6 separate regions of the Homo sapiens genome follow, and regions 1, 2, 3, 4 and 5 are each linked to region 6. Evidence: promoter capture Hi-C in human tissues and cell types (Jung and others, 2019). All regions are on one chromosome and are shown on one strand. The core of a region is centred on a gene start or on the middle of the fragment in contact, and the rest is flanking DNA. Distances in the headings are between cores, read along the strand shown.

Region 1 (5,187 bases), core at 2,375-4,874, 140 kb after region 6:
ATGGTCTGCTCAGAGAGGGTTGGATCCAGAGCATGGGTTGAGGGATTTGCTTTTGCAGCAGCTGAGGCATTTTCTCCATTAATACCCGAGAAAAGTCAGTTAGAGTCTGCAGAGTTAGGGAGTTTGCAGATTTGGTGGTGGGAAGATGTAGACGTTCTGTGTTGCAATTTTAGAGGAATGTAGGTCGTCAGATCAATTTCTATTCTTAAATCTCTGCTCAATGATGACTGTTCTCTCCTGCAGTGCTCAGTGGTGAAGTGTTCGAAGGGGAGGATTGGGTGCACCAGTTGCATATAAATTATGATAAGCCACCTAATAACTTTCCCTCTTGCAATTCAGAATGGTTTTACATTCCCACTGCCTTGATTTAGGCCCTCATTATTTCTCTCCTGGATTACTTTAGTAACCCTCTAATTGTTTTCCCAGCCCTGGTCTCTATAGCCAACTCTCCAGACCACAGCCAGACTGATTTTTATAAAGCACACCTTATCAATTACTTTATTACTAAAGAAAAATTATTAAAAACTCTTCAATCCCTATAAGATTGCATGCATATTCCCTACCATGGTACCCAAGACCTTTCCTGCTCTCCTTCACCACCTCCTCTGCCACTTCTTCACGGCTACGACTCTTGTGAAACTCAAGCAGATATACTTGTGGTTTTCCTCAATGTCTCATGCTGTTTTATGGTTCCATGCACTTCCCACATACTCCCCTCTGTCAATAATGGCAGGTGTCCCCTGGTCTATGGGTTGAACTCTTCATTCTAGAATGAACATAAATGTCTTCTCTTCCACGTAGCTTTTTTTTTTTTTTAATTGAGATGGAGTCTGACTCTGTTGCCTAGTCTAGAGTGCAATGGCATGATCTCGGCTCACTGCAACCTCCACCTCCCGGTTTCAAGCGATTCTTCTGCCTCAGCCTCCACAGTAGCTGGGATTACAGGCATCCACCATCATGCCTGGATAATTTTTTGTATTTTTGTAGAGGCATGTTTTCACCCTGTTTGCCAGGCTGGTCTTGAACTTCTGACATACGGTGATCCACCTGCCTTGGCCTCCCAAAGTGCTGGGATTACAGGCATGAGCTGTAATCTACACCTGGCCCCACATAGCCTTTTTGATAGAGGTAAGAAATTTTCCCTTTGTGCTCTGGTAGTACCTTGTCTCAATTGTGTTATAAAATTGATTGTGAAGCTCTAGAAGTTACAGATTAGATTCTCTTTTATCTGTGTGTCTCCCATCTAACATAAGTGCTCAGGAAATAACTTTGATCAAAGCATAAACCAGTGAGTGAGAGAATTTGAGAAATTGAGGTTTTCATGTGTCTAGTGTGGGCACCAGGATACCATTCAGGAGGAAACACACAAGGAGATTCAAATTTGGGTTACAGGGAGATGAATGATAAGGATGACTAAACAAGCAAGTTAAGACGTTGAGTAGTCATGGCCCTTGAAGAGAATGGAAGCAATGTGGAAGAGTAGGCGTGGCCAGTAGCTGAAGGACATATAGGTGTGATGCCGGAGGGTGTCACCAACAATTTTATGTCTTTGTCTCTTCCCATTGGCCTTATGCTCCTACGTTTTCACCATACATTGGGCAAATTTTCAACCATGTAGCTAAATTGTTGTTACATTAGCTCTGTCTACTCAGAGACAGATTTTTATTTTACCCCAAAAATGTATAAGATATTTAATTGATACATAGTATTTATACATATTGATGGGGTATATGTGATATTTTGATACATGCGTAGAATGTATAATGATCAAGTCAGGATAATTAGGATATCCATGACCTCAAGCATTTAGCATTTCTTTGTGTTGGGAACATTTCAAATCTCTTCTAGCCACCTTGAATTGTAAAATACATTGTTGTTAACTATAATTGCCCTGCTGTGCTATTGAACAATAGAACTTATTTCTTCTGTGTATAGAGCCTTAATTTTTCCTTGCTTTAAGATATAAAATATTTTCTTGTGAGAAAACAAATTCTGAGTGTTTTTTGTCTTTATTAGAAATTTCTACATTTATGTGACAAATACTCTCATTTTTATTGTAAAAAATTTGTTTTTAATGTGTAAGATTTTCAAAATGTGGCTTTATAATTCTATGTTTAAAAATTCATTTAATTTTCTGCTCTTGCATTAATATGCTTAGGATATTGGCCTCTAGCTGCATCCACATTGCTGCAAAGGACATAATTTTCTTCCTTTTTTAAGGCTGCATAGTATTCTATGGCAGGTATGTATCACATTTTCTTTATCCAATCCACCATTAATGAATGCTTAGTTTGATTTCATGTATTTGCTATTGTGAATAGTGCTGCAATGAACATATGAGTGCATGTGTCTTTTTGGTTGAATTATTTATTTTCACTTGGGTATATACTCAGTAATAGGATTGCTGGGTCAAATGGAAGCTCTGTTCTAAATTCTCTGAGAAATCTCCAAATTGCTTTCCACAGTGGCTAAACTGATTTGCATTCTCACCAACAGTGTGTAAGCATTGTCTTTTCTCCACAGCCTCATCAGCGTCTGCCTTTTTAATAATAGCCATTCTGACTAGTGTGAGATGTTGTCTAATTGTGATTCTAATGTGCATTTCTATGGTGATTACTGACGTTGAACAATTTTTCATGTTTGTTGTCCATTTGTACATCTTCTTTTGAGAAGTGACTGTTCATGTCCTTTGTCCATTTTTTATTTGGATTATTTGTTTTTTGCTTGTTGATTTGTTTAAGTTCCTCGTAGATTCTGGATGTTAGACCTGTGTCAGATGCATAGTTTGCGAATTTTTCCCCGACTCTTAGTTATCTGTTTACCCTGTTGAATTTCTTTTGCTTTGCAAAAGCTTTTTAATTTAATTAGGTACCGCTCATCAATTTTTGTTTTTCTTGCAATTGCTTTTGGGGACTTAGCCATAAATTTGTTCTTACTCATAAGTGGGAGCTAAACATTGAATGCACACAGACATAAAGCTGCAAACAATAGACACTGGGGACCACTCTAGTTGGGGGGGGAGGAGGGGGGCATGGGCTGAAAAACTACCTATAGGGTACTATGCTCAACACCTCAGTGACAGGACCATCCATACCCCAAACACCAGCATCATTAAGTATATCCATGTAACAACCTTGCACATGAACCCTCTGAATCCAAAATAAAAAACAAAATTTCATTTAAGCGTAAAATGATACACAGAGTTGTATTCAATTCACATCAGGAGAAAATAGTGACTGATTGAGGAACTTTATATGATTGTTTTTCAGAATTATTATTGTTGTTATTTTACAACAGTAAAACCATCTTTACAAACAAAATCTTATGAGGAATATTAACTGATAAAAGAGACAAAGCCATCCTGATGTGGTTGAAGGTGGAGGTACCAGAGGGGCAGACCTGCTATTAAGTGTTAACTTTACTCTATTTGGCACAGAAATCTTTCAGGAACCTCAATGGATCCATCAAACACTGCAGAACAATTTTGATGAGACATTGCCCTACAGCAGTACTAATTTGAATAATATAGTATCTATTTCCAGACCAACACTATGGGGACTGTGGCTTAGTCCCTCTACTTTACTTTTTAGATAGATGGCTGATGATGGATCAGAGGTAGAACTGAGAGTGAGGCCAAAAGCTTAAAAATCTCTTTGAGGCTGGGCTCAGTGGCTCACACTTGTAATCTCAGCACTTTGGGAGGCTAAGACAGGAGGATTGCATGAGGCCAGGAGTTTGAAACCAGCCTATGCAACACAATGAAACCCCATACCTACAAAAAAAAAAAAAAATAGCAGAGGGTGGTGGCTCATATTTGTAGTTTCAGCTACTTGGGAGGCTGGGGCAGGAGGATCGCTTGAGCCCAGGAGTATGAGGCTGCTGTGAGCTATGATCGCACCATTGCACTTCAGCCTGGTTGACAAAGGAAGGCTCTAATAATAAAAAATAAAATCTCTATGATATAAAGTGCCTTAAAATATTATTTTTCTTTCTTGAAACCCTTGGAATGCTTGTCTTTTAAAAGAGCCTACAATGTAGTGAACCTCTGGCCTTCAAAAAACTAGTGGGCACCAGTTTGGTGTGTATAAGAAAGAAGGCAGAATGTGGGAGAGAAACTTAAAGCAATTAGATCCTAGGCCAGTCATTTACACATTTCTTTCCAGTACTGTGAGAAATAGGAAAAAATAAGAACAACGCAGTGTCAGTCAAATTGGCCTTTTCTTTATGTGATTATGGTGATAGAAGGTAGTATGTCCTATCTTGGCAAAATCAACAGGTGGCAACCCTATAGTGGTTCCCAAGTTTACTTTTTGGAAGATTACTGGCATCATTGAACCCCACAGTTTGGGAATTTTCTTTTCCATACCACAGGTATCAGAGATATTAGGCATAGTCAGCCTCTAGATGCAAGGAATGCAAGTACATTATTTCAAAGTTTTCATTTCTTGTATGTGAGGTAATTGGAATTTTCTGCCTCTGTCATGTTGCCTGTTTCTCATAGACTCACTTTATATTTATCATTTATCAGCCAGTGGTAACTGACTTTTTATACTCGACTAGTAAATCTTGGTCACTGAATTCTGATGATCGTTACAAATAGAAAAGCTGTGTGTTTGTGTCTGTGTGTGTGTGTGTGTGTGTGTGTGTGACAGAGAGAGATACTTGTGCTTCGTCAGTGAATATCTGAGCTCTAAGTGGTTGATTGAAGTTTGCAGTTTGGCTAAAGCTATTCATAAACCCTTTACTTCGTGCCTTCCTCTGCTAATGACAAGAAAGCTAAACACAGTTAACTCCTCATTTTCCTCCAGCCCTGAGCAGTTAGTTGACCCAGTTCTGACCAGGGAGATGGAAGCAGAGGCTGCTGGGTGGTGCTTAGGTTAAATTTTTAAAAAGGAACAGACCCTGTTGGTGTTCTTCTCTACCCACAGATCTTTACCTGTCTCCCCCATCCCCCTGCAACATAGACACTATGCCAAGGAATACATTAGCCCTCTGTCACCCATGGGTGAAAGCCAGGTACTGATGATGACAGCTAAGCAAAAAGAAGAATGAGCATGTGATAGCAGAACATTCTAGAAGAGCTGTGCAATGCTGGGCCTCCTCCTCTTTCACTTTTTGTTATGTGAGACCAATAAAATTATTTATCTGTAAGCAACGATTAGCTGGGTTTTCTGCTAATTGAAGCAA
Region 2 (4,578 bases), core at 765-3,264, 150 kb before region 6:
TAAAGTACCTGGGTCATATGTAAAAATCATGGAGCTAAGCCAGAAATATATATTTTATGGATACCTTTGGGGCCAGAATTCTGAAAGGGCTTATAATATATATCTGTTATTTTTCAGATCTCTACATCTGTGATAAGTCCCGTCTGGTAGCAGATTCTGGCTCAGTCTAATTCTGTAATAACCAAACACTTGCGTTCCATTTGAGGAGATTTAATCAAGGGCTAGCTATTAGAAAACTCTTCAATAGTAAAGAAAATTATTTTGCGGATTGCGTTGATTAAAGCTAGAACTCACTATACATACATATATACGTACATATATATATATATGTATGTACGTATTCTATTTAGTGTATTCCCCTTAATGTCTTTGTTTCTTACCTATATTTTGCCTAAGCACACATGTCTGTTATTTTCTCTGGCTGGTTGTAGCAACTTGCTTTGAATCTAAGAGTGCCTGTGCATGCATGTGTGCTATGTGCAGATGTCTCCTCTTCTGCTTCCACTGGCTACATTTTATGTACAGAATGAGATTTGAGGAATTGTAAGTAGTGTTTTTTATATTCCCCATTTCTAACTAGGCATGTGTTCCTCCCAATTAAAACCCCCTATCCCCCTACCTGAGGCATGATCTGAAGAGCTCAAGGAGAAAAGCCTTCTTTGAAATCTGTGATGAATATTTTGTAGGCGGTCAGGTTGCCTGTTTTCATCTCTCCCTCTTTTCTACTTTGGCCTCCTACACACTAGTGCAAATTCTTATTTTCCTCCCCTCCACTGAACACGTACAAAGGTGACTTTGGGATCTTGACCGGGGGAGCCCTTGGTGATTCTGTGAAAGCTGATGGTACCTTTACACACCCCAAATCACAAAGACCGCAATGTCGTACCAACTCTTTCTGTCTTATATAACTTGATAGCAACAGTTGGTGCAAAGCACTTTATTTCTACTTCCTTAGGGATGAATGCATGAAAAAGACTCCCTGCCTAACTTTCTAGAAGGTAAAAGCTGGGTTATACAATAGTCGCATTATTCTTTTCACAATTAGAGGTGTTTTTTACAAAACAGTTCTATCAGAAATACTAATCAGTTTGCATTTATTATAAATGAGGTGGTTCTCATATTCATGTTTTTCCCTAGAGGATATGAATAGCAATAATGTGTTTGGGGTGGGCTAATTGCTGTTGTTCTTATAAAAGAAGATACTGATACATGTGTATTTGTATATATAGATCTGCTTTGGAAGACTACATATGCCACATGAAGAATACATTAGTGGAAATTGACTTCTGTGTTAAATGAGTCTTTTAAAAGTTTCCCCTTCATCCTCCCTAAAGAAAGAAAACAGCTTGGTAATGAACACAGTAGGAAGAAATTAAAGTTGTACATAAAGTGTGCTTTCAGTGAATTGTTTAGTTTGTTACGTAAATTCGTTGTGATATTTAAAATGTAGTGGGGAGGGATGGTTACTGCTTTCTCCTTGAAATGAACTGGGCTTTTATGGTCTTGCTCTGATTTCTTTCCTCATTATTCCAGTTTTCCTGAGCTTTTCATGGTTAATGGAACTACTGCTTAGCAAAGCTCAAATGACATCTCTATAGAAGCAGTCAGTCGACTCCGTGACTTTGTTTAAGAAGATGGGGTGTTTTAAGGTTCTGATGTGGCCTAATGCCTTTAAGAGAGGTAAATGCAGACAGTGGTGTCATGGTTTTAAGAGCCAAACTTCTTAAGCTATCATTTTTGCTTATAGAAAGAGTCTCAAAAATGCACTTAAAAGAGAGACTTTATGGAGATCTTAGATAGTACAATGAAACATGACAGTGTACCATAAGGTGCATCAACATTAAATCAGAATGCAACTTAATGTCATAATGCTATTCCACCTCCCAATCAAGTTTCTCTCTTGAGAAATAGCAACAAACCCATTTTACTTAGGAGTTAAAATCCTTTTGTATAGAGTACAAAACCCCAGAGAATGACACAGGTGGTCACCAGTATAAATTGGAGTAAAAAGTTGTTCGTGTATTTCAGTATGTATGGTTCACAAACAATAATATTCCCATTGTAGAATCCCATAAAGAAAATAGTTCGAGTGCTCCTCTAAATAAACTTTCAACATTTCTGGATTTGTTTGTGTATGTTTCTGCTACTGACCAAAGTCCATCACTAGGGATCTGTCTTGGACAGGGTGGATAGTATGGTTTTATATGCTGAAAGGGGACACAGTTCTCTGACCAGAAGTTGTTTTCATTTACTAAGTTCTTATTTCTTCTGTACTCTATACAGAAGGATTTTAACTCCTAAGTAAAATGGGTTTGTTTATTTATTTTATTTTTTTTTTGAGATGGAGTCTCGCTCTGTCGCCCAGGCTGGACTGCAGTGGCGCAGTCTCAGCTCACTACAAGCTCCGCCTCCCGGGTTCACGCCATTCTCCTGCCTCAGCCTCCCGAGTAGCTGGGACTGCAGGTGCCCGCCACCACACCCGGCTAATTTTTTGTATTTTTAGTAGAGACCGGGTTTCACCATGTTAGCCAGGATGGTCTCGATCTCCTGACCTCGTGATCCGCCCACCTCGGCCTCCCAAAGTGCTGGGATTACAGGCGTGAGCCACCGCACCTGGCCAAAATGGGTTTTTTTCTATTTCTCGAGAGAGAACCTTGACTGGGAGGTGGAATAGCACTATGACATTGAGCTGTATTCTGATTTAATGTTGATGCACCTTATGATATACTGTCATGTTTTCTTGTAATATCTAAGATCTCCATAAAGGCTCTCTTCTAAGTGCATTTTTGAGGCTCTTTCTATAAGTAAAAGTGATAGCTTAATTTTCATTTACTACAGAGGTTCTATCCATCCCAGTTTCTTCTGGGACAGTCATTAGGTGAGTGGAAGCTCCATGGCTCTTTTGTGGTCATCAACTCACCAGCCTACCCAAAGCCACCCATCTGTGGAGGCAACCAACTCCCAACAGGGTCAGAAGAGGTAGTCCAGGCACTAGATTTGCTGAATTTTGAGTTGTACTCTCACTTCCACTCCCCTACCTAACTCTCACCTGCTTCACCACACCCCTCCTCCCAACTTAACATTTCTGAAATGAGATATATCTTAAAAATCAATGTTTACATATTTAATGTTCTCATAGTAGGCTTTCCTCACTCCTCAGAGAAGCTGTTAATACATTGATGGTGTATGGAGAATCGAAGAATTACAGTATTACCTTTTTAAGAAATTGAACAGAAGAAGAAAAGGAATGCTTAATTTCCTTGGAGATTTCTTGGAAAAGGTGGTCACCACTCTTGCTTATTCTAATTCTCATTATTTATCTTTCTATGAATTCCTTCTCCATCAAGTTCCTCAAAAATGGTGGCACTCCTGAGGCTAAAAGTTCAGCTGTTATCATGTTCACTCAGGCCATTGTCAGTTCTCTGAAATCTTCTCTTTCCCACCACTCCTACTTATTTTCCCTCTCCTTCCCACCACCCAACCAGTTTATGCGAGAGTGCTGTTTTGTAAATGAGACTGGGAGCTCATAAATGGAACTATGGGGTGGATGTGGGTAAGGGGAAGGTAAACAGTAGCTTAATTGCAGTTTAGGAGCAATATCTAGTTTTGTATAATGGTAGGGATGTGTGTGTGTGTGTGTGTGTGTGTGTGTGTGTGTGTGTGTGTGTGTGTGGAGTAGAGCAAAAAAAATTGGTAGAAAGCTTGAATTATATAATTAAGAGCCCTGGCTTTGAAAAACTTGGTCAGTCCCATAATAAAACTTGCCATATGTTACCTGTATACATGCTGACCCTCTAGCTATGAATTCCCTAGCTTGGGTCATAAATAAAGGCATTTTCACTTTAGAAATCCTTGCTCTAGAGTTCATGCCCAATTCCTCTGTGCTTTTCATTCTTGCTATAATCAATTTTTGCAGTCCAGGGTGCCCTGTCTTTCTTTCCGTATCCGCCAAGGCTGGCGAATAGATTGTTACTGATCCTTTCACCCATACTTAGTATCTAGTAAATGTTTTAATCCTCAAGGAGTCAGGAAGTTTTTGACCTACTTTACCCTTCCTCCAGTTTTCACTTTTAATCAAGCTAATGAAACTACAGCCCAGTCTATGGGCAATTTCTCTGACTACAGTTAGACAAGAATGATCAATTTTGATTTCTGAGACTTGTTCCACATGCCTACTAATTTCCTGTTTTATGTGACATTTATAATTGCATTAAATCTGTGCTCATTCTTTATAAAAAGCATGTATTTAAAATGAAATTATGTGGCTAACATTCTTCTTTGTTAAGAAGTTGCAAGTAATTGCTACTCAGTGTTTTCTCTTATGACTTTGCCTTTGTACAGCATTTTAGGAAGTTAGGAAAATCCTGCAGTTTTCCTTGACCCATAAAAAATAATTCACAGGAAGAAGATTTTTTGGCAAAGGTAAGTTTGCTACCTAAACGTAAGACTTAAATCTTGAGTATCAATATGTTTAATCAAAAAATGGATTGGAAAGCCAGCCAAACTTCAGTGAGTTTCAGCCCTACCACTTACTATCTATGCAATCTTGAAGAAGTGACTTCATCTCTTTATGTCTCT
Region 3 (5,127 bases), core at 307-2,806, 220 kb after region 6:
TTTGTTAAAAACATTTTTATCAAAATAGCCGGTGAATCAAGTAACATGGAAGTGCTAACTCTGCTTTCCTCAGCACTCTTTGTTCAGGGGCACATTCTTTTGGTGCTTATTCCCATGGTTGAAATCAGTCTTATTCTCCTCTTTTTTAAGACTTAGAAACACTAGATAATATCTAAGCAACTCTAAAATGAAAAGTTCAGATGCAGATCCATTGTACTATTGCTTTCTTTACCCCTCATCAATGTTTCAGATTTATACAATTTTTAGTCTTTCTCTTAGTTACTTTTGTAACTTAAAATAAGAGACTAAAAACTATTTTTTGTTACATGAAATTTTAGAAATATCTTCATATTTTGCAGTTGGAGGAATTATTCTTTCTTCTTTCTCCATTTTTGTCTCATACCAACATAAAATGAATTATACCTTCTCTACACTCAAATGTTTAAAATTGTGCCATGTTTTCTTTGCTTTTTATGAAAAAAATATATACTAAATATATATATATACTAAATAGCTTTCTGATTCTTAATTACAACTGTATTCTATTGAAAGGATATATTATAACAAATGCCCTATACGTAAACATTTACATTGTTTCCAGTCTTTTGCTCTTATAAGGTTAAAATATTACCAGTTTTGGATAAAAATGATGGAATGTTGGTAATATATATAACAACCTAATATAAAATTGCTGTTTTTATATTTCCAGATATTTAATTTTGATAAATATTGCCAAAATTTTCTACATAAGTCTGATATAATTTTGTGTTATTATGAGCAGTTTATGAAGAAATCTAGATTTGCTAATATTTGCTTGTTCAATTTGCAGTTCTGCCAATTTGAAAGATGAAAAAATAAGATCTACTATTAGTTATGATTTACATTTCTATTACTATGAGTGAGGTTGAGTATCCTTTCATATGTTTACAGGCCATTTTAACTTCTGTTTGGAGGATGAGCTGTATTCATATCCTTGAACACTTTTTATATTAAATTTCTGGATTTTTTTCTTGTTAATTTTTTATGAGGTTTGTAGTTATTAAAAGTTCTAATCTCATATCTGATAGGAGTTGCAAATATATTTTCCCAGCTTGCTAATCATCTTTCAATGTTTGACATTTGCTTTTTAATTTACTCCTTAAATTTTTTTTTTAACCACAGAACTTTTTGATTTCTATATATCTAAAATTTTCTATCTTTTCTTTCATAGCTCTACATTGTAAACAACAGGGTGGTCTTCTTTCTTCAAGATCATGAAATGATGACTCAACTTTTTTTTCTAATAGACATTTTTTTCTAATACTTTAATAATATTACACTAACACTGAAATCTTTGATCTTGGTTTATTGTGGTATGAAGTGTGGTTTCAAGTGTGTATGTTTCCAGATGGCCACCCAGTTTTGTCAACATAATTTTTAAATATATATATCCTTATGTACTAATTTGATAATTGTTATATAAATATATTTGGGTTTATTTCTCAACTTTTCATTCTTTTCCATTGGTCAGTCTATTCATGTAACAGTAACATAGTTTTTACTATCAAAATTTGTATTTTAATATCTAGCAATGCCAGTGACTCTTATATCTCTTATTTTTTTAAAGATTTTCTGGCTATTCTTGCTTTTTAGGTGGTGCATGTAAACTTTGAATTGAATTATGTAGTTGCAGATGGACAAAAACCTTTTGGTATTTTCACTGGGTTCACACTGAACTTAAATTGACTTATGTAAGATATTGAGTCTTAAATAAATAGTAATTTTACTTCTAGTTGTTTAATTTCACTTCCGTATCCATCATGAGAATTTGAGCTATTTTCAAAAATATTGTCTTGAATCTTCCTTGTTAAGTATATTTACTGGAGTTAAAATTTTTATTGTAATGAGATCTTCTATTTTATCTTCCTTTTTAATTATATCTTATTTTGTTCTTTAAATTAATTTTGTACTTTATTATCTATCTTACTACTTTTACTCACTGTGTGGGATTTCATCTTTCTACAAAGATGATAGGATTGATTGTGTATTGGAAGGGTTGGGGAATAAGAAAAATTCTTGAGTAAAATTAATTTTCTTGTTAAAAGCATTGGTAAATATCTCCAGTAGAATGTTAAATAGTTGTGATGAAAAAGTGATATGTGTATTTATCCTGTTAATAAATAATCTGCCAAATTTTGTCAAATGTCTTTTTTTTTTGTATCTAGAGGGAGATGATCATGAGAATTTCCCCCTCAGGAAAGTTTCTCTGATCTATTAATATAATTGACTATAACTGCCTGATACCAAGTTTATTCACATATTTTTAGAATAAACTCCAGTGAGTTGTTACCTGTTAAGTTGATGTTGACTTTGGCTTGATATACTCAGGATTTTTTTAATGTTAATATTCGTAAGTGAGGTTAATCTATAGTTGTCTTTTTAAATGAAATATTTGTTGGCTTTTATTATCAATATTATATTCATTTTAAAAAACAATTGGGATGTTTTCTTTCTTTCTGAGTCCTGAACCCAGTTATGGAGCACTGGAATTATTTACTGTCTAATTTCTATTGAAACTACCCAGTGAGATCTCCTAGCTTGGTGCTTTGTTAGTGTTAGCTCTTAATTTCTTCTGTGCTAAAGAAAGTATAACACACTAAGTTTCACTGAATCATATTCTCCTAGAAAACTATTCAATTTATATAGGCCTTTACATTAAGTTGCCTAGAGTCATCTGAAGTAGTCTTATAATTTTAAACATTTCTGTTCTTATGATTACTTTCTCTTGCTCTTTTATTTTTTCTCTTGAATAAATTAGGTAGTGACAAATCTATGGATCATTTTCAAAAACACCATTCATTCATTCATTCATTTATGCTATGTCATCAATTTATGAATGTACCCTAATTTCTTCATTTGCCTTTTGTTTTTTGGTGTGTTTGTATTATGTTTCTATTTTCTGACTCTGAGCCAGATGCTTACTGCATTTATTTTCATTTCTTCTTTAAAAATGTTTCCTGTAGGACTTGCTTTAGTTATATTTCGTAAGTTCTGATATATATTGCTTTTATTGCAGTTGTTTCTGTAACTTCAGTTGGTATTTTCTCCTGACTTGAGACTTTTTAAAAGGTTTGCTTTTTAAAATATATATATTTGTTAGTTTTTGTTTGTTTGTGGTTTCCTTTTCCTTTCTGGCTTAGTATATTGTCAATTTTCTTCTTTTGTATGTACACTTGAAAAGAAGTGTTTTCTATAACTTGAAAGCATAAAGTTTGCTACATAAAAATCATCTGGTTGATTATAACATGTAGTTTAAATATTTTATATATATATATTTCTGTCTTCTTGATCTGTCTTGATTAGAGAAGTAAAGTGTTCTTTTAAAAAGGTATTTCTAATTCTCACAGTATCAACTGTAATTGCTCTTTGATGAAATTTGCTACTGGTATTTGGTGTCTGATAATAAAAGTTTTATGCTTTCATTATTATTTGCCTCCCTTAGCATTTTGAAGTGTCCTTATTTGTCGCTGTTAATGCTTTTGAACCCTGAATACCGCTTTGTCTGATACTAACTTTGCAGTCTCTGCTTCCTTTTTGGTTGTATGTTCTGGTCTACTTTTGCCCATATTTGCATTTTTAAACTTTCTAAATAGTTTGGTTTTATACATGTTTCCTGTAATAAGCATAGACTTGTCTTTAGCTTTGTGATAAAGAGAAAGATTTTTAATATTTATCTGTGAGGTAAGCTCCCTCATATTGGTCAAGATGATATTCATATTTTATTTCTGTTATGTTTTGTTATGTTTTCTGTTTAAAATATAGGCACACCTCATTTTATTTCACTTCACAGATATTGCACGTTTTACAAGTTGAAGGTTTGCAGCAATCCTGCATGAAGCAAGTCTATTGGCAACATTTTCCAATAGCATGTACTCACTTTGTGTCTCTGTATCACATTTTGGTAATTCTCATAATATTTAAATTTGTTTTTATTCTTACTATATCTGTTATGGTGATCTGTGATCAGTGATCTTTGAGGTTACTAATGTAATTGTTCAGAGGGCCATGAACTGTGCCCATAGAAGTTGGCAAGCTTCATCAATAAATGTTGTTTATGTTCTGATTACTCCATTGACCAGCTGTTCCTGTCTCTCTCTTCTCAAGCCTCACAATTCCCTGAGACACAACAATGTTGAAATTAGGCCAGTTAATAACCCTACACTGGCCTCTAGGTGTTCAAGTGAAAAGAAGAGTCACATGTCTCTCATTTTAAATCGAAAGCTGGAAATAATTAAGCTTTGTGAAGAAGGCATGTTGAAAGCTGAAATGGGCGAAAAGCTAGGCCTCTTGTGCCAGTTACCCAAGTTTTTCTTTTGACTGCAAAAGAAAAGTTCCTGCAGGAAATTAAAAGTGTTACTCCACTAAACATACAAATGATAAGAAAGCTAAACAGCCTGATTGCTGATATGAATAAAATTTTAGTTATCTGGATAGAAGGTAAAACCAGCCACAACATTCCCTTAAGCCACAGCCTAATCCAGAGCAAGACCCTAACTCTCTTCAATTCTATGAAGGCTGGAGAGATGAGGAGGCTGTAGAAGAGAAGTTTGAAGATTCCAGAGGCTGGTTCATGCATTTTGAAAAAATAATCCATCTCCGTAACATGAAAGTACAAGGTAGAGCAGCAAGCGCTGATGGAGAAGCTGCAAAAAATTATTCAGAAGGTCTAGCTAAGATCATTGATGGAGGCGAACAGCAGGTTTTCAATGTAGACAAAACAGCCTTATACTGGAAGAAAATGCCATCTAGGCTGTCATAGCCAGAAATAATAAGTTAATGCCTGGCTTCAAAGCTTCAAAGGACAGGATGACTTTTAAACAGGCACTAATGTGGCTGATGACTTTAAGTTAAGGCAATGTTCATTTACCTTTTCGAAAATCTTAGGGTCCTTGAGAATGATGCAAAATCTACTCTACCTGTGCTCTATAAGTGGAACAAAGCCTAGATGATAGCACATCTGTTTTTAGAATAGTTTACTGAATATTTTCAGTAAATAATTTCAGTAAGCATTGCTGAGACCTATCACTAAGAAAAAAAAAAATCCTTTCAAAATATTACTGTTCAATGACAACACACCTGGTCACCCAA
Region 4 (4,699 bases), core at 708-3,207, 130 kb before region 6:
AAATGATTTAATATTTCTGAGGCCCAGACGGTTTCCAATGCATAGAATTGCAGGGTTGCTATAAGCATGAAATCCTCTTGTGTGCCACAGGAAGGCCCCGTGTGTAGAACATAAGAGATGCTCAGTAAAAGTTTGTCTTTCCAAAAGTAGAGAAGAAAATATCCCTATGGCATAAACTATCATGTTCATCTTTCCTCATAATTGTTTGGATCTTTTCCTTCATTATTTTTGGAGGGAGGGAGTGAATTTTTCTAACTTGGGATTTCATGGTAGTTATTGGCCAGGAGTGGTGGTTCCTCAAAGTGATTGAAGTTGCAAACTCTGTATTTGATGGATAGTGAGAAATGGAAGCTTGTTAGTAATGAGACATAAAATTGTAACTGGCTTGTCAAAAAGACACTCTATACCTGACTTTTGGGGAAAAAAACCCCAAACACCATAAATATGTTTCTTCATTGTGATGATGTGGAAATTGTCAGATTCTCAAGCGGAGAAGAAGGCAAATTAGGCCTCACAAGCCTCTCCAAATACAGAGAGAATAGGAAACTGATTTTCCAATACTACAATTTGCACATGATTCTAATGAGAAAATCTGAGGGGATATCATGGCAATATGTCTCCCCAGTGGCAGCTGATCATTATATATATATATACTGTCATTAGAGATGGTACCAGACACCTTTAGGAGTGTCTGTCTAGCATATTTCTGTCTTAGAACTGACCTTCCATCCTTAAAGGACTGGCCCCTGCAGCCTTGTTTGTAACAAAGAACTTGCCCATCCCCCAGGCTGAAACTGGAACAGGATGGACACTGAGCCAAGCCAGGCCAAGCACATTGTTTGCTGGGAGTATGGAAGGGAACCTGCAAGGATGGCTGGGGCGCTGTGCCCTGCAGAAGCAGAGCAGAGGAAGTGGGACAGAGAAGAGGGAGGCGGGGAGGGCATGGGAAGAGGGCAGGCTCTTGCTCCTTGTTTCAGTCCCTCTGGAGGCTGAGCCCAAACTCCTGTGTGTGGATTCTGAGTTACCTCTGTAGTTGTGCGCTAATTTCTTTCTTTGCCTTAAAGCCATCTTGAGGGAATGTTGTTTCCCTCAGACCTAAACTTTACTAGGAGGAGTTCCCAAAACTTTACTAGGTTAGTCCCTAGATAGATACCTCATGGGAAGCTGGCCTCAAGTTGTGGATCCAAGGAAAAACCATTGAGAGATTTCCATGGACTTAATCCTCTTCTCTGTCCCCTAGATTGTTTCGAACACCTTTATTAATTAGGTGAACTGTGGAAGGTAAAGTCGTAACAAGACGGCCCTTGAAGAAATGGTGGTGACATCATGAGCTGCATGTCCCGTAACTCTGCGTGACTAGAACATCATGTCATGAAAGGATTTTTGAATACTCATTTTTAAAGAAATGCAGTATGATATAGCATTTAAGTAAAATAGTAAGTTTCTATTGTAAATGTTGTAAGTTATTGTAAATGTTTGTAAAATAGTAAGTTTCTATTGTAAATGTTGTAAGTACAACTATACTAACAGGAATTGTTTGTAAAACGGTGAATAGAGAATCACTATTGGAATTATTTACCTTTTGTAAATTACCATTTATTTCAAAAAAAGTAATGTTACTATTCACACAGTAAAAAGAAGCTATTTGCTTCTCTTGAGAAATATGTCTTCATTAAGCTATATATATAAATAGCTATATATATATATATATAGCTTAATGAGAAAATATATATATTTAAGTGACAAGGTCTTGCCTTATTGCCTAGGCTGGAGTGCAGTGGCACAATCATGGCTCACTGCAGCCTCAACCACCTGGGCTCAAGTCATCCTCCCACCTCAGCCTCTTGAGTAGCTGAGACTACGGGCCTATATCACCATGCCTGGCTAATTTGTAAATTTTTTTTTTAGAGACATGGTTCCTCCAGGTTGCCCAGGTCGGAGCCTTATATTGTTTATGTGACTAGTATACCTCCTTCCCAGAGCAGATTCCATATCTTGGTGGGTCACTAAGTTTCTCTGTAGAATTAGAAATAGAATTAGAAATGCATAAATATTCCTTTCCCTGTGTTTTCTGGATGCTTTGATCCTCTATGCTGTTGACCTTCTTGCTTCATTTCAATGTTAATTTTCAAAATGGACCATTACAATTCACTTGATTTGAAAACAAAATTCCAACCCACGTAGTTCTTTTTTTTTTTTTCCCCATGTAATTCTTTCTGAGAGTTAATTTATTTCCAAGCTATCAAAATTTAAAAATGTTTTGGAGATCAAAGTGTCAATTCAGTTTTGCAAATCTGGTAACTCTAAAAACTCTGAGATTCTTATTGCTACTTCTATTTTATTTTATTTAGTACAATGGGAAGTATGTGTGCTACTAGCAAAAGGTCCATGCAGTTAGAAGATGAGCCAACATGCCATTCTTTGTAAAAAATGACAATTGTAACTATCAGATCCAAAGTTATGATTGAGAGAGGCTAGGGGGCTGGAGAATGACTAGAGTTAATAGATTTGGTGCTGTTCTTTGCTTTTTTTTGGTTTTCTTTTTAGCAGCTGTAGGGGTATATGTGTAGAAAGTAAGGTGTTCCAGTTCCTGCAGACAGTGACCCTATTTTCAATTTCAATTGAAAACAATATCTAGGGCATATTCTTGGGCAGCCAGGCCAACTGGTTTATTTCTAGTGAGCTCTGTGAAGAGCATGTTTAAAATACTCCTGAGGGTTTACTTGGGAGCTGAAGTTGTTTGATATTACAAGGCTTATTTTGAAATGATTGATTCCATTTGTGGATAGTGTCATTTCCTGAAGTTATGAGTCAAGATTATTGTTAAACATTGACAGACCCTGTTGAGGATTTTCTAAATATGTCCAGTGGCTTCCTACATTTTATTTTAGTACTAATCATTCACATCTAGACCATGATGGAGGATTCTAACTGGTTTTGCCACAACCTTGACTTCAACGTCAGCTCTGGGCTTGGTTCATTAATGTCTGCTTTCAAGTCTGAGAGGTCTGGCTATTATTCACTGTGATGCTAATGTTTCCTCCTAGTCCTAGATATTGATAAATGGGTGTGGTTGCTTTCAGTCCCCTGTGGCTTTGAGTCACAGCCCACATTCACTTCTAGCCAGTGTTTTGATCAGTGATTCTGTAGTGAGGATAGTTTTGGCAGGGAACTGTCAGCTCCTGCAGCAAGCTCTACCCTGCTGGGGTTCCCATACTCTAAGTTGACCAGTGCAGTGAATCAAAGCATCCAGAAAACAGATGGGAGGGGATATTCCTGGACATAGCCTGGTCTTTGCTAGCAGTGACATGTGAAGTTTTTTAGCTTATCTACCAATTTTTTTAATGGAGACAAAGGGAGGGAGTGTTGTGTGATGGGCCGAGAGGACAGTGGGTTGGTGGAGAAATCAGTGGGAAGGGGTGAGACTAGGTTTGGACAGGAAAAATAATAAGAATTGTGCAATATGTTAACTTTTTTTTTTTTAACACCTTGCTAAACCACCAAACTCTTTTTCCCTCAGCTGTGACCTTGATTTTTTTTGAAAGTTAGAAGCATAAACATGCCAGATAAGCACAAAAACTCTGAGCTTACATAAAGCATATAATGATGTTATCAATAAAATTTTAAAACAGAATTACCATAGTGGTACATATTTAATTATGCACACACTTCTTACTGTGCTATATAGTAATAATAGCAAGCGAATCACATAAACACTGTAGCTGGTGTTACTTTTAATAGGGAAGGTAACTAATATTTATTGAATCCCTAATATCTGCCGGGCTCCATGCTGGGTGCTTTACATATGTTATCTCATTTAATGGATAGCTAACAAGGTGTTTCCAGGCTCGGTGTGGGCAGAGGAGGGAGAAATGATACTTCTGGGCCCTTCTAAAGATGCAGAATTCTCTTTTCCTTGTCAGGGGCACATATTTTCCCATTGGTCCAGGCATCTGTCACATCTCCTTGGTTTAGGAATGTGTGCTTCCTGAGCCCTGGAATCTTCGTCACCCCTGGACAGAGTGAGGACACAGTGCCCAGAGTTGGGAGTTGACCGAACCTACCTTCAGATGGGATTTCTGCTTGAAAACCAGGAAGCAGAACTCAGAGTAAGTCAATGGTTTTTGAGGAGAATGTGAACAGGAGACTCACTGCAGCCCCCAGCACTACTCTCCTCTTTCTCCCCCAACGCACAGCCTCCCAAAGAGAAGAGAAGGAAGCCAAAGGGTGTGTTTCAGAGAAGGCCCCACCACCTTCACCCCTCTTATGCCCTTCCAAACATGTTCATTGACAATAGCATTTCACTATTTAGAGTCTGGCTCTTTCATCTTTTGGGATTAGGGAATTCTTTGAAAGTCTGACAACAATCTTGACTACACTCTTCAGAAAAATGTACCAATATTTACACTTCAGGTTAACATTCCTTGATTTAGAGATTCACACAGACCACCAAGGAAAAGCTCTGGGAGGATGAGGGAGGTAGTTGAGAGTCTATCAGCCATTGATTCTCTTGAGGATGATACCGGGATGGGGTGAGGAGCTGGGGCTGAGATTAGAAGAAGCAAGGATAGGAGAACAGTGCTGAGAGCACTCATGAAGGTGCCTACAAGGAAGCGAGAAGGATCCCAGAGGGGAAAAGGGAAAAGAGACAACAGAAAGGGCCCTTGAAATGGTACTCCAAGGGAGAGATGGGAAATTC
Region 5 (4,777 bases), core at 75-2,574, 200 kb before region 6:
ATTCTTTTTTTTTTCTGAGGTGGAGTCTTGCTGTCTTGCCCAGGCTGGAGTGCAGTGGCATGATGTCAGCTCACTGTAGCCTCTGCCTCCTGGGTTCAAGTGATTCTCCTGCCGCAGCCTCCCAAGTAACTGGGATTACAGGTGCCTGCCACCATCCCTGGCTGATTTTTATATTTTTAGTAGAGACAAGGTTTTGCCACGTTGGCCAGTCGGGTCTCAAACTCCTGACCTCAAGTGATCCACCTGCCTCAGCCTCCCAAAGTGCCGGGATTACAGGTGTGAGCCACCGTGTCCAGCCATTTTTATTTTTTTAATTGACAAGTAATAATTATATATATTTATGGCGTACAATGTGGTATTTAGATATATGTATACATCATAGAATGATCAAATCAGGCTAATTAACATGTCTATTACCTCACATATGTATTTGTTTTTTGCAATGATACCATTTAAAATCTATTCTTTTAGCTATTTTGAAATATACAATACATTATTATGAACTACAGTTACCATGCTGTGCAATAGATCACAGGAACTTACTACCCCTTACTGAAGCTTTGAACTTTTTGATTCTTTTTCCTTTTTACCCACCAGCCTCTGGCAATCACTATTGTACTCTCTACTTCTATGAGTTTGACTTTCTTACATTCTACATATAACTGAGATCATGTGGTATTTGTCTTTCTGTGCTTGGCTAATTTAGCATAATGTCGTCTAGATTCATCCATGTTGCAAATGACAGAATTTCTTTCTTTTCTAAAGCTGTATTGAATATTTAAGGCTGAAACGAATATTCCATTGTGTATGTATGCCACATTATTTTTACCCATTCATCTGTTGATGGGCACTAAGGTTGTTTCTGTATCTTGGCTATTGTGAATAATGCTGCAGTGAATATGAAAGTAGAGACATTCTTTGACATATTAATTCCAGTTCCTTTGGATATATACCCAGAAATGGGATTGTTGGATCATATGGTAATTCTCTTTTTAGTTTTTTGAGGAACCTCCATACTGTTTTCTACAATGGCTGTACTAACATTCTCATCAACGGTGTGCAAGGGTTCCCTTTTTCTACACACCCCAGCCAACACTTACGTTTCATGTTTTTGACAACAGACGTTCTAACGTTGTGAGGTGATATCTCATTGTGGTTTTAATTAGCATTTTCCTGATGATTAGGGATGTTGAGCATTTTTTCATGTATGTTGGTCATTTGTATGTCTTCTTTTGAGAAATGTCTGTTTAGGCATTTTGCACATTTTTTTTAACAGGGTCATTTGTCCTAATTTTGAAATAATATTACAAAGCTATAGTAATTATAACAGCTGGAATTAAAACAGACACATCAACCAACTAAATAGGATAGAGAGCTGAGAAAAAAACTCATGGGTCTACAGTGAATTAACTGATTTTTGACAAAGATTCCAAGAACACATAATGGGGAAAGGACAGTCTCTCCAATATAGTGTTGAGAAAACTAGATACCCACATGCAGAAGAATGGAAATGGACCCTTATCTGACCCCTTATACAAGAATCAACTTAAAATGGATTAAAGACTTAAATGTTAAGACCTGAAACCATCAAACTACTAGAAGAAACCTTAGGGGAAAAGCTCCACAATGTTGGTCTGGGCAATGATTTCTTGGATATGACCCCAAAAGCACATGCAAAAGCAAAAATAGATGAATGGGATTGTATCAAACTAAAAACTTCTGCACAACAAAGGAAACAACAGAGTGAAGAGACAACCCACAGATTGGGAGAAAATATTCTTTTCATAAAATAAGGGGCTAATATCCAAAATATATAAATAACTCAATAACAAGAAAACAATCCTGTTTTTAAAAGACCAGTAATTACAATAGCTGCCATTTGCTGAATATCAGGCACTTTACTATGTACTTAATACACAGCTTCTTTTAAAATTTTTCCAACATCTCTGGGAGGTAGTTATTATCCCAATCAACAGATAAGGAAACTGAGGCTTAAATAAGTCACTTTTTTTTCTTTCTTTAGAAATGGGTTCTCTTTCTGTCATCCAGGCTGGAGTGGTGCAGTGGCATGACCAAACTCACTGCAGCCTCAAACTCCTCGGCTCCAGTGATCCTTCCGCCTCAGCCTCCTGAGTAGTTGGAACTAGAGGCAGGTACCACCCCACCTGGATAATTAAATTTTTTTTATTTTTTATTTTAAAAGACAAAGTCTTTTAAACAGCCTGTGTTGCCCAGGCTGGCCTCAAACTCCTCAAACTCCTACCCTCAAGTGATTTTCCTGCCTCAATCTCCCAAGTAGTGGGGATTACAGGCATAAGCCACTGCAACTAGCTGAAGTCACTTTTATGCAATTACACAGGTAATAATTTAAGAGGTAAGACTTGAAGCCATCTTTATGGAGTTATAACTACTGTGTTTGATTTGAAGCTATATATACAAAATTATAACTACTATGTTCTTAAAAATTATTTAAATAGGGACTGGGAAATATATTGGGTTCAAAATTTGATTTAAAGTTGCCAGCAACTGTAATCCATATCTTAACGTTGTAGAGACGGAGAAGCAGCAATTTTGGAGGGAATAAACATTTTCTTTACTATAGTGCATTGTTTTTCAGATGTAGCTTAGTGGATTGTGAAATCAATTTGGTGGGTTATGATTAGCATAGAAAGAAAATGAAATAGAATAGAATATATGCATGCCAAACTATCACATGCAGTAAGGGTAAATATTGATGTAAAGCTTTTGTTTTTTATATATATGTGTGTGTGTGTGTATATATATATATATATATATATACATACAATACACACATGTATACAGTTGTGCATATATATCGTTGGTAAAATGTATTGTATCAAATACAATGTATATTTTTTTTCTGCAGAGATTCAGGATGGCTATTTAGGAATTAGGAATTAAAGAGAAAGCTGATGAGTAAGAGCTAGAGAAATCAGAATCATTTAAGTTATGACTCCCTAAGAGTTAGGAAATTTAAGGAAGAAAATTAATGTTTCTCTCTGCCTGTGACCCTATTTAATGAACATTCACTGTAAGCCAGGCACTGCTCAGCACACATCACCTATATGGACTCATTTAATCTTTACAATAACACCATGAGGTAGGCACAATTATGATCCTTATTTTACAGGTAAGAAGTCTGAGGAGTAGACAGGTTAGGTCCCTTGCCCAAGGTCACATTGCTGGGAATCAAGCCCAGGCAGTCTGGCTGCAGGTTCTGCTCCCAGCCACCAGGCCATGCTGCCTTATTGACACATAGTCTATAAGAGATTGTCTAAGGAAACAAGACTTTATCTTTTAAAGATACGAGTATTAGTCCGTTCTCACACTGCTAATAAAGACATACCCAAGACAGGGTATTTATAGGGAAAGAGGTTTGTTTGACTCACAGTTCAGCATGGCTGGGAAGGCCTCAGCACACTTACAATCGTAGTGGAAAGGGACGCAAACATGTCCTTCACATGGTGGTAGGAGAGAGAATAAGTGCCAAGGGAAGGGGGAAGCCCCTTTTAAAACCATCAGATCTCGTGAGAACTCACTCACTATCATGAGAACAGCATGGGGGAAACCACCCCCATGATTCAGTTATCTCTACCTGGTCCCGCCCTTGACACATGGAGATTATTACAATTCAAGGTGAGATTTGGGTGGGGACACAGAGCCAGATCACATCAGAGTGACAGCGAATAGTTGCCTTTTTAATAAAGAAAAACACATGCTTCAGAGTTCATTTAAAATGGACTAGATTATTACTTTTTAAGCATAAATTGTTATTTACTTTTAAAGTTTACTATTTTCAGAATTGAATTTTCTCTAATATAAAATAAAAAAACACCGATTGGCTCATGACAGTCTTCTCTTTCAGCTCCTGACACATGCAGAGAGCCAGCCATGTGGTCCACGGAGCCATGTCCCTGATGGCAGCTCTCCAGGCTGCAGGCATGATGCCAAGGGGAGAGGCAGCCTATGAGAAAGCAGCTTTCTATACTCAGACCTACGGCAATATAGTGAATGTCGCATGGGAGAGGGAGTGATAGAAATAACTAACCCACAGGACCCCTGACAGCATTGCCGGGCTGACACACCAGGAGCCTTCCTCAGAGAAGCCTCCCTCATCGAGGGGAATCCCTCTCTGATTTCCCCAATGGGGCCAGAATTGAGGGAATAATAGCCTTTGTTTCCCTGAATAGGATGCTGGGTTAATTTTCAGGAGGCAGGAGAAAAATTAAAGGTGTAGATACAGATGGAAAACGAGGAAATTGGGACACACTCGTGAATTATGTAGGTGGTTTTCTTTTCTTAACCATTACATTCTAACCTCCTATGAGCAGAATCGGCATCATGCAGGTACAAAGCTGCCCAGAGCCAGCAGTAGCTGGTGCTTTCCGGACTCCCTGCTTGTCACTTAGCTGAGGACATCCTCTGAATTTGGGAGCAATTTGGAGGTGGGGTGTCAGGAGCAGGCTGGTTAAATCCACACACATTCTGGGAAGGAACTGGGGGGCAGGCAGTTTCCACATCAGCAGAAGCCTCTTTCAGTTGCCAAATGGCTCAGTATCCTGCCTGCCAAAAAGTCCTTGAGCATGTATTAAAAATTCAGGGGATCCAAACATTGTCTTTTCATGTAAATATCACTAAATCTGGTGATTTTGTTTTGGGGATTATAAATAAGTGAGGACCAGCATATATTCCTGAACACACCATCAACTTTCTAGAAAGGAGATTATAAAAGTCCTAATAATTTGTTAAATGGCCT
Region 6 (5,040 bases), core at 363-2,862:
TCCAATTCCTTAGCTGAGTCCCTGACAGCACCACAGCTCTGAGTGGGTAATTTCCTTTGGTGGAAAGACACACATCAGAGACTGGAGGAGGTCCGGGGACATTTCATTTGAGGGGAGGCGGCTGCAGGTTCAATTTGCAGGCGATTTATAACAATCAGAAAAAAAATTGTTCCTGGTGCTCGTGCCAATAACAAGAGCATTAATAATAATAGCAACAACATAGTAAACTCTGAATCTACCAGGCGACCAACTCCCCGATTGTCTGGTACTATCCCCTCTCACTTCCAGCCTGGTCTCGGCAGAAACAAACAAAACAAAACAAGGCTCTGACGCTGCCTCCGGGCTGCCTTCCAGATTTCAGCCCCCACTGCTGCCCCAGAGGCGGATAGCTAGGCAAAGGCTGCTGCAGTCTCTCCGATTGCTAAGGACACGTTGAGAGTCCTCGGTAACGTTCTCTTTGCAAATCTGAAACTTTAGCCCCATTTGACCCCCTTGCCCCCGGCTCTTCCCCCAGAGTAACTACAACAAGCAAAAACCAAACAGCGAGCGCAATTCAGAGCTTTCCTTGGGAGTGTCAGGGCCCGAGGACAGGAAATCCGGGGAGTTGGCGAAGTCCGGCAGGTGGCGGGGACTCGAGTACCCACCACATTCTCCTCCCACAGCCGAGCTCCGGCGGGGGCGCGGCGCGAGGCACGGACCAGGGATCGGCCCCGTAGGTGCCTGCGCCTCCCCGGAGCCTGGCTCTCTGGTCCCCTTCCCGGCGCACATCTCTGTGCGAGGGACGCGGCCACCCTGTCCCCTCTGCAGGCGGAGGGAGGCGCCACCGCCTGCGGGGCCAGCGAGGGTGAAGCCGTGCCAAGCGCCCCCACAAGCCGCGCTCCTGGATCCCCAGTCACCATCCCCAGGCGCGCGCAGTCCCCGCTCCCAGCGCGCCACGTCCTCCACCTGCCCCGGTGCGCCCCAGCTTCCCTGCTTCCAGAGAGCAGCTCCCCCAGTCCCGGCAGCCCATTTCCAACCCCTTCTCCCACTAAGTCCGAGGAAGTCGAACTCGGAGCGGCCGGTAGGCTCGTCGAGGTGGCAGGGAGTTGCTGGGAGAGCACAGCGCGGAGAGGGACCGCGCACGCCGCCCGGGGATTTCGCCCCAGAGGGCTGGCTCCGCGCGCCCGGAGTCCCAAGCCCCAGAAGCGGGGCCCGACCCGAGCCCTCTGCGTTACCTGGCACCGCCGGCGACTCTCCGGAGACCTTCGGTCCTAACTGCTCCAGGGCGGGCGTTCTGCTCACGTAGCTGCCTCCCCCACTGGGCGGCTGGTGCCCCGCTGGGTCTCTTCACCCCTGCTCGCGGCGCTGTCCCCGCCCCCCACCCCCCTACCCCCTCTGTCAGAAGTGTCACAGCTTTTCTGCCTTCGGATGTTTCGCAAAGTCTCCGTGCGGTTGCCAGGAGTTGGGGGGTACTGCCAAGTGCACCAACCCCGCCGATGCCCTGCCCTGCCCTCCCGCGGCCACCGCGTTCGGCCTGTCCAGTGAGAAGAGCCCCCTGGTCGCGGTCACCGTCCCCCGAGCGTGGCGCGCGGTCCGCTTCCCCTCCCTCGCGCCTTCCCTAGCAGGAGTGGCTGCTGCCTGCCTGTACCGCGGGTCCTCATTCCCCTGCTCATGAATATTCTGACAGAGGCTAATGCCGCTGAAGTAAATTGAATTAGCCAATTGGTGCCAGGAATGTGCGCTCCTTCCTTCTGAGGAGCTGTCTGGAACCCCACCAGATGAAAGCAATTAACGTCCGGTTGGCACCCTGTGGTTTAGACCAGTGAGGGGCAAAATGGGTTAATTCTTTAAATGCAGTTTAGATACCGCATTTAAATGTTTCAACTCCTCTATTGGCTGAGAGCGTAAGGAAATGTTAAGAGGGAGAGAGAAGAAAGGGGATGTGTGGACGTGGGGAGGGGGGCGGGGGTATTTACATCTAAACTTTCCCCTGAAGTTGAGGTAATTATTTTGCACAGATTCTGGAAGAGGCAATTGAGGAGTAGAACAGGATAAGGCAAATAAAATCAGAAAGGAAATGAGTACCAACTCGGGTTTAACCTTGACCTTGAGGGTGCAAAAGACATTGTTTTCAAGAGGAGAGGTAGGGGAAGATGGCATGTGTGAGGGAAACCTCACTCATCGACTTTTAAGAATTTCTTCAAATGCTCAGATTTCCTTTTCTTTTTGTCCTCATAGGAAAATCTTAGAGTTTTAAGCCTTTAACTAGAGATGGGGTGGAGGTATATTAAGGGTCAGAAATTTCTGAGGTGGAAGCTGAGACCACCCTTCTCTCCCAGATGAAGGGGGTCCCCCAAATCACACAATACTGTGACAGGCCCATTCCAGAAGGCAATTCCAGCTCTTATTTCTGAGGTCAGAATACACAAGGTCAAAAGGAGAGATCACCTCTCTCCTGTCCTGATTCCTACCCTAGAATGTCAAGTTACTGACGACAACTTGGGTTTCACAGTGGCTGGAGGGGGACTTTTTGCCCGATGTGGTTTCTACATTTCTCTTCAAGCAAGGTGCTTGGAGGATTTCCTCCCCCATCACTGATTGTAATAGAGCAAGTTATTTTGATTGAATTGATAGGTTACTAAATAATCTATTTGTACAACTGCTCTGTGGCCAAATGATCAATGTGTGTAAAGAACTGATAAAATGATATATATAAACATCCAATAAGATTCCCAAGTGTGTGACAATAGAAATAGTATCCCAGTTAAGGCAGTCATGCCATATTTTAATAGCTTTCAGCAGGCCTAGAATTAGAACTCATAGTTATAACAATGATTATTAATAGCAGAATAGCTAATGTTTATGGAGAACTTGTTATGTGACAGACATGTGTTACACATGTTATTTCATTTCATTTTTCCAACAACTCTATTCAGTCTAGACTATTATTTCTCTATTTTAATAGATGATGCAGATGTGGCTCAATAAAGTAAGGGCAGTTGACCCTTGAACAACATGGGGGTTAGGAGCACTGACCCTCGTGTAGTCAAAAATCCGCATATAACTTTTCACTCCAAAAACTTAACTACTAATAGCCTACTGTTGTCTGGAAACTTTATGGATAACATAAGCAGTCGACTAACACATATTTTATATGCTATACATTTTATATGCTGTATTCTTAACAATAGTCTGGAGGAAAGAAAATGATACTAAGGAAATAATAAGGAAAATGAAATGTATTTACTATTCATTAAGTGGAAGTGGATCATCATAAAGGTCTTCATCCTTGTTGGCTTCATGTTGAGCAGGTGAAGGAGAAGGAGGAAGAGGGAGGCTTGGTCTTGCCCTGTCAGGGATGACAGATGGGAGAAAATCCATGTCTAAGTGGACTCATAGAGTTCAAACTTTTGTTGTTCAAGGATCAACTGTAGTGTGTCCAGGTCATATAGCTCATAAGTGGGGAGATCAACTTTGACCCAAAGGACTCTGATTAGTGGTCCAGGGCCTTCCGGTCTCTAGCAGCTTAAACTGTCTTCTTGTCTAAAAAGAAAATCAGTTTCTTGGTGTTTTGTTGAAGTGACTTGTTTTTGGTGATCAATTTCTTACACAAAATTTAGAGAAAATCATGAGTCTTTTTTTTTTTTTTTGGATAGTGTGATGGTTAATTTTATGGGTCAACTTAACTGAGCCATAAGGTACTCAGATATCTGGTGGAACATTATCGTGGAAGTTTTTGTGAGAGTGTTTTTTGGATAAGATTAGCATCTAAATTGGCAGACTGGATGAGGGAGAGAGATTGCCTTCCGTAATGTGGGTGGGCCTCATCCAATCAGTTGAAGGCCTGAATAGACCAAAAGGTTGATCTACCCTCAGATAAGGGCTGGCTTTTCTCATGTTTTTATAGGTTCTTATGAGAAGTCTTTGGGATGAAAGATGTCTTCTTTTACCTTCTACAAACGTGTGTTTGAAAACTTTTTTTTACCAAAATTATATTCCATTTACTGAAAGGAAACAGCACATTATAAAGTGCTGTTTCTCTGCACAGAGCTTGTGTCTAGTTTTTAGGACTAGATATTTGCATATTTTTATAGGTCTTATGAAAAGCCTTTGGGATGAGAAATGTCTTATCTTCTACGATGGTAAAATTTTCTGGCCTGATGGGAAGAATTTTCTGGCCTGATGGCCTTCAAACTCAGACATCATCTCTGCAGATTATGGATTTGCCAGCCTCCCTAATTGCATGAGTCAATTCCTTATACTATATCTACCCATCTACCTACCTACCTGCCTACCTACCTACCTTTAGTTGGTTCTGTTTCTTTGGAGAACTTCAACTAATACAAATTGATATATTCAGTAAACACAACTATTTGTGAATCTCCCATGGATATCAAATGTCTCCATCTCCCAATACATTGGTACGCAGTGTGCAGTTTTTTTACTTAAGATTTTCCAGGCCTATTATTAATAAGGTAAGAGCAATTTTATTTTTCCTGTTTTTTTAAACATGGGTGAGACTACCAGATTTAAATAACATTTTATCTTTCAAGTACTGAAAATGGACTATAATATATTAGATTAAAGCAAAATTTATAGATATTATATAAAGGGAGAAATTTGAGTATTATAATTTTAGGGATAAGAATGATCAGGTTAAATCTTTGAATTCAACAGTTGTTGAGTACCCACTAAATGCAAGGCACATGTCTATTCAAATGTTTTCTGTTCAAATCCACAGTTAAATCCCTTTTAAACGTTGAGGATCTGCCATATTTTATTCTCTGAAACTTTGGGTAGTTTAAAACTTTTTATGTTAAAAAAGTGTATGACTGTTTTATTCTCATATTAAATACTGATGATTTTCCCAATCATGATTCCTCCCTTACAATGCTCTGTTAGTTCTTCCTTTTACAGAGAGAATCCACTTAGGATTTAGAAGCAGCATTTCACAGAAATGTCTTTAGATGTTAGAATATGTATTTATATGAATATGTTAACATGATTTTAGAGCTCATAAAATGTTATCAGGATGAGTGCTTTCTATATTTCCTCAAGAGT

What was found. Contacts are between HindIII fragments. The study calls those that stand out against the background at their distance.
Region 1: a fragment that was not itself captured here is called in contact with the fragment with the promoter of CDH20 in region 6 in 7 of the 25 tissues and cell types used here (H1 embryonic stem cells, adrenal gland, aorta and 4 more).
Region 2: a contact is called between a fragment that was not itself captured here and the fragment with the promoter of CDH20 in region 6, in 5 of the 25 tissues and cell types used here (bladder, dorsolateral prefrontal cortex, hippocampus and 2 more).
Region 3: a fragment that was not itself captured here is called in contact with the fragment with the promoter of CDH20 in region 6 in 5 of the 25 tissues and cell types used here (H1 embryonic stem cells, aorta, mesenchymal stem cells and 2 more).
Region 4: a fragment that was not itself captured here is called in contact with the fragment with the promoter of CDH20 in region 6 in 4 of the 25 tissues and cell types used here (dorsolateral prefrontal cortex, hippocampus, mesendoderm cells and 1 more).
Region 5: a contact is called between a fragment that was not itself captured here and the fragment with the promoter of CDH20 in region 6, in 5 of the 25 tissues and cell types used here (hippocampus, liver, lymphoblastoid cells and 2 more).

What each region holds. Positions count from the first base shown.
Region 1 is chr18:61,189,953-61,195,139 of GRCh38, reverse strand. No RefSeq gene overlaps it. Among named protein-coding and RNA genes, the nearest start is that of CDH20, 140 kb to the left of the region's middle. The HindIII fragment of the contact is 5,069 bases long and covers 1,090-5,187 here.
Region 2 is chr18:61,483,833-61,488,410 of GRCh38, reverse strand. The region is part of intron 1 of CDH20 (cadherin 20); the gene reads right to left. Among named protein-coding and RNA genes, the nearest start is that of CDH20, 150 kb to the right of the region's middle. The HindIII fragment of the contact is 7,068 bases long and covers 1-4,578 here.
Region 3 is chr18:61,105,041-61,110,167 of GRCh38, reverse strand. No RefSeq gene overlaps it. Among named protein-coding and RNA genes, the nearest start is that of CDH20, 230 kb to the left of the region's middle. The HindIII fragment of the contact is 5,995 bases long and covers 1-4,553 here.
Region 4 is chr18:61,463,100-61,467,798 of GRCh38, reverse strand. All of the region lies in intron 1 of CDH20 (cadherin 20), which reads right to left. Among named protein-coding and RNA genes, the nearest start is that of CDH20, 130 kb to the right of the region's middle. The HindIII fragment of the contact is 5,102 bases long and covers 1-4,508 here.
Region 5 is chr18:61,530,555-61,535,331 of GRCh38, reverse strand. The region is part of intron 7 of CDH20 (cadherin 20); the gene reads right to left. Among named protein-coding and RNA genes, the nearest start is that of CDH20, 200 kb to the right of the region's middle. The HindIII fragment of the contact is 5,872 bases long and covers 1-4,260 here.
Region 6 is chr18:61,330,002-61,335,041 of GRCh38, reverse strand. It overlaps CDH20 (cadherin 20), which reads right to left and starts at 1,612. Exons shown (of 12, transcript NM_031891.4): 1 at 1,215-1,612. The HindIII fragment of the contact is 19,388 bases long and covers 1-5,040 here.